2 separate regions of the Homo sapiens genome follow, and region 1 is linked to region 2. The links are contacts of gene promoters, found by promoter capture Hi-C in blood cells and fetal thymus (Javierre and others, 2016). All regions are on one chromosome and are shown on one strand. The core of a region is centred on a gene start or on the middle of the fragment in contact, and the rest is flanking DNA. Distances in the headings are between cores, read along the strand shown. Region 1 overlaps BECN1 (beclin 1). Region 2 holds the start of RAMP2 (receptor activity modifying protein 2).

Region 1 (4,189 bases), core at 1-2,500, 56 kb before region 2:
GTGCCAACAGCTTCACTCTGATTGGGGAGGCATCTGATGGCGGCACCATGGAGAACCTCAGCCGAAGACTGAAGGCAAGTCGGCCCCATTCCGGTGGCAAGCAGTAGGCCTGGCTGGGAGAGTGGGTAATTGAGCAGGAAGCATGGGGGAGGCCCTACCCTGACTCTCCCACACTTCCAGGTCACTGGGGACCTTTTTGACATCATGTCGGGCCAGACAGATGTGGATCACCCACTCTGTGAGGAATGCACAGATACTCTTTTAGACCAGCTGGACACTCAGCTCAACGTCACTGAAAATGAGTGTCAGAACTACAAGTGAGTGTCTCCAGAGCCAGGGCTCAGAGCTGTTACTGCTCTGAGACTGCTTGGCCCTTACCCAAGAGCCGTACTCCACTCAGGCAAATGGAGCTCTAGTAAGTATAGTCTGCCTGTGTCTTTGGCAGACGCTGTTTGGAGATCTTAGAGCAAATGAATGAGGATGACAGTGAACAGTTACAGATGGAGCTAAAGGAGCTGGCACTAGAGGAGGAGAGGCTGATCCAGGAGCTGGAAGACGTGGAAAAGAACCGCAAGATAGTGGCAGAAAATCTCGAGAAGGTCCAGGCTGAGGCTGAGAGACTGGATCAGGAGGAAGCTCAGTGAGTGCTCACCCTGTTCTATCTTCTCACACTCGAGGCTCCAGGAGAGGAAATGGCTTCCAGCTGAATGTGTCTGAATAGTTTGTAAACTAGTCAGCTGTCAGTCAGCAGCATGCCTGCCCCAGATCCTGCATATTGCTTCCATGCCCTTTTTCTAGAGGTTTGTTGGGAGAGTTACCTATGAAGAGTCAGCATGATTAAGTGAAAAAAGTATGTTGGTTAAATAGTGCAGAAACCAGAGCTCCAGTCTTGGCTCTGTCCTGTAGGGAATGGGCTCATTTGGATGAATCAGCCACTTTCTAGCCATCCTTAGCTGAAAAGATGAGCTAATTAGCCTACATTTGTTCCCTCCAAGCTTAAACATTTCATGGGGGCCAGGTATGGTCGTTCATATCTGTAATTCCAGCACTTTGGGAGGCCAAGGCAGAAGGATCACTTAAAGCCAGGATTTAAGGCCATCTGGGGCAATATCAAGTGAGACCCCATCTCTACAAAAATGAAAATTAAAAAAAAATTAGGCTGCTGTGGTAGACCTGTAGTCCTAGCAACTACTTAGGAGGCTGAAGTGGAGGATAACTTGAGCCCAGGAGTTTGAGGTTACAGTGTGCTGTGATCACACCTCTGCACTCCAGCTTGGGCAACAGAGTTGAGACCCTGTCTCAAAAAATAAAAACATTATAGATGTCCTTGACCTGAGAGAACCCTCTCTCTAGTGGAGGACACACAGTGTCCATACTAACTGAAGTTGTGGAAATGAAGGATAGAGAAAAGTCCATTTTTTTCACACAGTAGTATAACAAGTTTCACTGGAAGTGGGGTATAGTAACTATTTAAAGGACAGTAAGTGTATAGAAATGAAGCTTTAGAAGGCCAATTATGGCCAGTTCATGGAAGAAGCCACTGTTTTTTTGTTTTTTTTTTTTTTAGAAACAGAGTCTTACTCTGTCATCCAGGCTGGAGTGCAGTGGTGCAGTCATGACTCACTGCGGCCTTGACTTCCTACACCTAAGCAATCCTCCCGCCTCAGCCTCCCAAGTAGCTGGAACTACAGGCGCGCAACACCATACCTGGCTAATTTTTGTATTTTTTATAGAGATGGAGTTTCCCCATGTTGCCCAGGCTGGTCTTGAACTCTTGAGCTCAAGTGATCCACCTGCCTCAGCCTCCCAAAGTGCTGGGTTTACAGGCATAAGCCACCATGGCCAGCTGGAAAAAGCCACTGTTTTTTGTTTTTGATTTTGGTTTTTTTTTGAGACAGAGTCTCACTCTGTTGCCTAGGCTGGAGTGCAGTGGCATGATCTCAGTTGTCTGCAACCTCCACCTCCCAGGTTCAAGCGATTCTCCTACCTCAGCCTCCCAAGTAGCTGGGACTACAGGCGTGCGCCACCACGCCTGGCTAATTTTATTTTTTTAGTAGAGACGGAATTTCACCATGTTGGCCAGGCTGGCATCTAACTCCTGACCTCAGGTGATCTGCCCACCTCAGCCTCCCAAAGTGCTGGGATTACAGGTGTGAGCCACTGCACCCGGCCCAGAAGAAGCAGAAGCCACTCTTTTTTTTTTTTTTTTTTGAGACAGAGTCTCGGCTCTGTTGCCCAGTCTGGAGTACAGTGGTGTGATAGCTCACTGCAACCTCTGCCTCCTGGGTTGAAGCAATTCTGCCACTTCAGCCTCCCAAGTAGCTGGGACTACAGGTGTGCACCACCACGCCTGGCTAATTTTTGTATTTTTAGTAGAGACAGGGTTTCACCACATTGGCCGGACTGCTCTCGAACTCCTGACCTCAAGTTATCCACCCGTCTTGGCCTCCCAAAGTGCTGGGATTACAGGTGTGAGCCACCACGCCTGGCCCCAAGAAGCCACTCCTAACCCATTCACCTCACTTCTGAAAAAGATCAGAAATAAGAGGTTTTTTGCCCTGGTTTGGGAGAATTCTTTTTTCCTCCACCTTTTTGCATATGGGCAGCTGGAATTTGAGACATTTCTGTTCCTTCCAGGCAAAACAGCTAGGACATACATGTTCCTCAGAATGGGATCTATGCCAAATATAAAAGATGCGAGAGCTAGATGTAACGATGATCACTAAAGAATCGTTCATAGTGTGGTGAGAGAGAAACTTTAGCCCCCAAGCTAACAGCCTTCAATGGCCCCCTTGGCTGCTCACAGGTATCAGAGAGAATACAGTGAATTTAAACGACAGCAGCTGGAGCTGGATGATGAGCTGAAGAGTGTTGAAAACCAGATGCGTTATGCCCAGACGCAGCTGGATAAGCTGAAGAAAACCAACGTCTTTAATGCAACCTTCCACATCTGGTAATGAGAGCTAGGGGATGAGGAGCACTGCACATATCTAGACCTTAGCTGTTGACCACTAAGCCTGGGTGCCCACTTCCCACAAAAGAGGGACTGTAGGTTATCTTCACCCAACTAGGTTTCTTTCATTCATAGTGATGGGATAGGCACAGTAGGGATTGGAATTCTAGAGCTTGGTGACATCCGCCCTTCTAAAGAAAGGAAAAGGCCTGAGCCCTTCAGCCACTTAAAAACCTGGTAAGCTGTCTGGTGCTGATTTCTTATCCCCACGGTGTTTGATGTTCCATTAATTTAATAACTGTTGAGTGTCTACTCTGGAAAAGGCACTGTGCTGAGTGCTAGGAGGGCAACAGCAAAACAGTATGCAGTCAACCTTCTAGTTGCATATAATCTGGTGGAAGAGATGGATAAATAACAAGCAGTTGTAATGCAGTGTGATGATGGTAAACCCAGGGTGCTGTGGGAACACATAAGGGCACTTGATCCAGTTTGGGGAGGCCATATGGAGAGTTTCCCCATAGGGGACTTACGTTTAAACTGAGAGGTAAAGTAGAAGTCTGCAGAGAGGGGGTTGTTCCTAGCAGAGAGAACATTATGTGCAAAGAAATGGGAAAGAGGGAGTGGTGAATTCAGAGAACAGAAAGGAGCTTATTGTGACTGAAGATTGAGTGTAAAGGGGAGAGTGGCCGGATATGAAACTGGAGAGTTACCAGTTCCTGAAGGATCTCGTAGGCCTCGTTAAGAGGTTTGGACTTCATCCAAAAGGCAGAGGAGACACTGAAGCATTTTAGCTAGGGAAGTGACGTAATTACACTTGTATTCGTGAATGATGGCTTTTCCTGCACCATGGGGAATGACTTGGGGTAAAGGGGTGGAATCGTTGGAAAGGATACTCATCAGTAGGAATCTAAAGGAAAAGAATAGTAGCATTGAATTTGGAGAAAAGTGGAAAGATCCAAGATATTTAGCAGGTAGAATCAGGAGAGGTTGGCAGTTTTGCACGGAAGGAGCTGAGGGAGCATTCAAGGATACCACCCAGGTTTCTGCTTTGGCATCTGAGCAGCAGGGAAAAAGATGATGACTCAAGTTTTGGACATGTATTTAAAGTGCCAAGTACAGCTTGCATATATGGACTTGAAGATAGATTTAAGCTAGGTTTGGGGTGAGAGTGGGAAATGTCAAACTTTTTAAGTAATCCCTGTATTTCCCCCCACCTTTCTGCCTTCCTCTGTAGGC
Region 2 (4,257 bases), core at 1,719-4,218:
GTGGCTCGTGCCTGTAATCCCAGCACTTTGGGAGGCCGAGGTGGGTGGATCATGAGGTCAGGAGATCGAGATCATCCTGGATAACACAGTGAAACCCTGTCTCTACCAAAAATACAAAAAATTAGCCGGGCGTGGTGGCGAGCACCTGTAGTCCCAACTACTCTGGAGGCTGAGGCAGGAGAATGGCATGAACCAGGAGGCAGAGTTTGCAGTTAGCCGAGAGCATGCCACTGCCCTCCAGCCTGGGTGACGGAGCAAGACTCCATCTCAAAAAAAAAAAAAAAAAAAAAAAATTAGCTGGGCATGGTGGCTCACGCCTGTGGTCCCAGCTACTTGGAAGTCTGAGATGGGAGGATCCTTGAGCCCAGGAGGTCGAGGCTGCAGTGAGCCATGTTTGTGCCACTGAACTCCAGCCTGGGTGACAGAATGAGACCTTGTTTCAACAAACAAACAAACAAACAAACAAACAAGGAACTAGTGATTGCTGTAGAGATGGCAGTTTTCTGACCCCAGGGTCCAGTGCTCCTCAGCCTTGAGCTTCTTCCAGATCAGATACGTCTTCTGGTTGCTGGCTTTAGTGGACACCAGGGGGCAGTGTGTTGCTAGGCTGCAGGCCACACCCAGTCCAGGACAATGTAGGATGAGGGCAAGGGACATGGAGAGGGGTGGTGAACCTAGTAAAGGAAGCCCCCACTGCTTTCTCCCTCAATTGTGAGGGCCTTAGGAATGGATTCCTGTTGCTCAGTCAGGGTTCCTCTTCCCAGGCCCTGTGAGTAAACTGAAGCATGAAGAAGAGGAATAGTCAGGGCTCCTGGGCAGCCTCCTGCTCCTCTTGCAGGAGTCACAAGCAGAGATTCCTCCCTTGCCCCTTCCCCCACACCTCCCCAGTTGCAGGCCCCCAGCTGCTGTCCAGACCGGAAGGGAGTCTCTTCCTGCTTGTTTCCTGGAGCCGAGTTTGGATATAGGCAGGAAAGGCCCGCCTGGGAGGAAAGAATATAGGGGTGTGACCTTCATGGAGGCAGGGAGCAGGGGGGCAGGTGAAATGAACAGAACAATGGGCCATCCAGATTTTTCCAGTTCTACTACCCAGGGCTGAGGGCCTGTGGCAGTGGCAGGGAAGGACACAGGTTCCACTGAAATGGGGAGAAGGACATTGTACAAAAAAAAAGTTTTATTTTGAAGATTACAGAACTTGTGCCATGACCCCACCTGGCTTCCATTCCCAGCAATCCAGGGATCTGTGGTGGGGATGAGAGTGAGAAAAGGGAGTAGGAGGGGAGGAGGGAGGCCTGGTGGGGGTGGGGAAGTGGAGTAACATGGTTGTTGAGAAGCTCGTGGCCCCCTAGGCCTGGGCCTCACTGTCTTTACTCCTCCATACTACAAGAGTGATGAGGAAGGGGATGAGGCAGATGGGGGCTATGATCATGGCCAGGAGTACATCCTCTGGGGGGTCAGAGAAGGTGGGCTGCACCAGGGAGCAGTTGGCAAAGTGGATCTGGTGAGTCTCAAAGATGATCCTCTCTGCCAAGGGATTGGGGAAGCCCAGGTCAAACAACTCTGCAAAGTGCTCCAGGCAATCTCGCAGGGTGCTATAAGGCCTAGGGGCAGAAGAGGACTTGAGTGAGAGAGGGGGTGGACCCAGGGAGAAGAGTGCCCCACTCTCACTCAGGGTCTACCTGCAATGAGCAGGTCCACCCCCTGGCCTGAGCCACCCTCCATCACTGCCCCTACCTGCTAATCATGGCCCAGTCGCACCAATCCTTTTCGATAGGATCCATTTGATCCTTATAATGATTCCAGCAAAATTGGACAGCTGTCTCATAGTTCTTCACCGTCCCCCCTGTAGGTACAGATGCTACACAATGACCACACCCCTACCCCTCCCTACAAACCCTCCTGCCCAGGTGCTTGCAAGGTGAACTGCCTGTCTTCAAACGTGGGAACCCTTCAGAAAGTTTCCCTAGCAAAACATTCTGGCTGAGGACAGAGTCCCAGCTCAGGAATCCTATAATGACTTCCATGTGCTAAGCACTTTCCATCCCAGCCTGATAAGAACTTCCACGTACACCTTTTCCTGGGGTCTTCTCGCCCACTTGTGAGGTGGGCAGCTCAGAGCCGTGCAGGGGCTTTGTAGGAGGACAGGGAGAAAGACCACGAGGAACCCCAAGAAAGAACAGAGGGGAGTGTAGTGGGGCATCAGCTGGGGTTGGGCAGGCCTCGTGGGAAAGGAACCCTCCCCACTGAACTTGCTCTCGTCCTTACCCTCGGCCACCCTTCCACACCCTGGGTACCCACCTTCTGACCCTGGTGTGCCTGTGGTGGGAAGAGGCTGAGCCAGGGCCTCGTGGGGATTCAGGACAGCTGTGGGAAGAAACGGGAGAGGAGGGTAACATAGCGGGGACCCCGGCAGTGGAGCCTGCGAGGGGGGTTGGGGGACTGAGACCCTCCGAAAATAGGCTACCTTGGAAGAAAAGGAGGAATAATCTAGCCCCCACGGACGCCTCAGTGCCGGGGAGGGAGGGGCTGGCACCAGCTCCTTGTCACTCACACCCAGGCCCAAAGCCCCCTCATCTCTGGCCAGCTTCCGTCCTCCTAAGCCCTCTTCGAGGGGCCGGGGCCAGCACCCCAGCTTTCCCTGGGTGGGAAGCAGCTCATGCTGCGCCCGCCCCGAGGTGGGGTCAGGGACCGTCCGAGGGCCAGTGCTGCTAGGTACGTCGGTCCTAACCCGCACCCCAGGGCCCGTTCCGGCCTCGGCCATCCAGCCCCTCTCCCCTCTCCCCTCTCCCCTCCGGGGCCTCTCGCGCCTCCCGCCCGGGCCTCGGGGCGCCGCGCTCACCGCCCAGCAGGAGGAGGAGGCGGAGCGCTGCCGGCCGCCCGACTCGGGTCCTAGGGAGACGCGGGCCGCCGGCGCGCTCCACCCGGAGCGAGGCCATCGTGCAGCAAGGAGGCGAGGAGCGGCGGCGGCGCTGAGCCGGGCCCGGGTGTGGGGGCGCCTATATCCCCAGCCCAAGCTGCAGGAAGCCGCGCCGCTTCCTCGGAGGGGCTGGGACGGCGGCGGCCACGTGGGGGGCGGGGGCGACGCTCGGGGCCCGCGGCTGGAGGGGGAGTCGCTGCCTCACCCGCGCCTGGCGCCCGCGGCTCCCTCCGCCTCGCCGGCGTTGGCCCACCCTCTCGTAGCTCACCCCGCGAGGCTGGACAGCTCCCGGAACCCCGGAACCGGGATCTATTTCGGGGGCTCGGCTGCGTGGCGCCCAGGACTCTCCAGGGTCTCCCAGGATCGCTCCCCGAATTCGAGTCGCCCCCTCTCTCTTTCGGGTCTGGAGGGGTCGGCAAGCTGCTCTCCCAGACGTGGAGAAGAGGGAGGGGGCTGGGAGCTCCAGCGGCCTCTCGACGCCGCTGCTTCTAAGGGGCTGTCCTGGGTTGTGGGGGAAGGGGCGCCTGGAGCTGAGCCATGCAGCTCAGGGTTCCTTATCCTATCCCTAGGAATACCAGCTGATGTCAGTCCGCCAGCCAAAACCAGGGAGGAGAAGCGGGAGCCAGCCCTCTGGAGTCGGGAGAAGGTCTGGGGAGTGGGGTAGAGGGGAAAGCAAAGTCCAAATACCTTCCCTTCAGACACCTCCTGGGGCCTAGACCCCACAAACCTGTTGTGGGGAGGGCAAAATACGATGACTACGTTCCCAGGAAGAAGGTGCCACAGCTCTTCAGGACCACGGTTGGGAGAAAGAATGGAGGGGTTTTAGAACCTTCAGTGTGCGACTTCATGTGCCAGGTGAGTGTAACACCATTTTACAGACCGAGAAGCTAAAGCTCAGGGCCAACAGCCCGGGATTTGAATTCAGAAGCTCTGGGTTCTAATTCTGTCTTCTTACTCCCCAGCTATAGAGCCTTGAATGACACGTTTACCTTCAGGACTTCTCATGTGAAATAGGGACATTCCCCTCCTCACTGTATGATGGCAGCTGTGAAAGGGCACTGCACTCGCTAAATGCTAGTTTCCTTTCCTCTTTTCCTAAGTGACTTATCTAAGGTCACACTGTTAAGGAAGCAGCAAGGCTGAGTCTGGGCCTCCGGGGGTCCTGACTTCAGCCACACCACAGCTGCTTCTTGTGTCCTGGGCCAGAGGTTCATTAGTCTGAAGCAGCTGAGGAGCCCAGGAGCTGGTTTGGCCATGACGTTCAAGTCCCAGACACAGCTGTCAGCACCAAACTTTCCTAAATTACTCCCAGACACTGACCCTTGGACTCAGCTGCTGCTGTT

The links. Contacts are between HindIII fragments. The CHiCAGO score rates a contact against its expected background, and 5 or more counts as called.
Region 1: a contact is called between a fragment that was not itself captured here and the fragment with the promoter of RAMP2 in region 2, in 1 of 17 cell types (endothelial precursors). The highest score is 6.6, in endothelial precursors.

What each region holds. Positions count from the first base shown.
Region 1 is chr17:42,814,672-42,818,860 of GRCh38, reverse strand. BECN1 (beclin 1) reads left to right here. Exons shown (of 12, transcript NM_001313998.2): 5 at 1-74; 6 at 181-317; 7 at 446-640; 8 at 2,807-2,953; 9 at 4,188-4,189. Among named protein-coding and RNA genes, the nearest start is that of MIR6781, 7.2 kb to the left of the region's middle. RefSeq lists an enhancer at 1-1,081. The HindIII fragment of the contact is 505 bases long and covers 998-1,502 here.
Region 2 is chr17:42,759,938-42,764,194 of GRCh38, reverse strand. RAMP2 (receptor activity modifying protein 2) reads right to left here and starts at 2,968. Exons shown (of 4, transcript NM_005854.3): 1 at 2,837-2,968; 2 at 2,296-2,361; 3 at 1,732-1,840; 4 at 1,154-1,598. The coding sequence starts at 2,933. The coding sequence ends at 1,343. RAMP2-AS1 (RAMP2 antisense RNA 1) reads left to right here and starts at 2,938. Exons shown (of 6, transcript NR_024462.1): 1 at 2,938-3,315; 2 at 3,484-3,560; 3 at 3,682-3,769. RefSeq lists a silencer at 2,765-2,854. The HindIII fragment of the contact is 18,952 bases long and covers 1-4,257 here.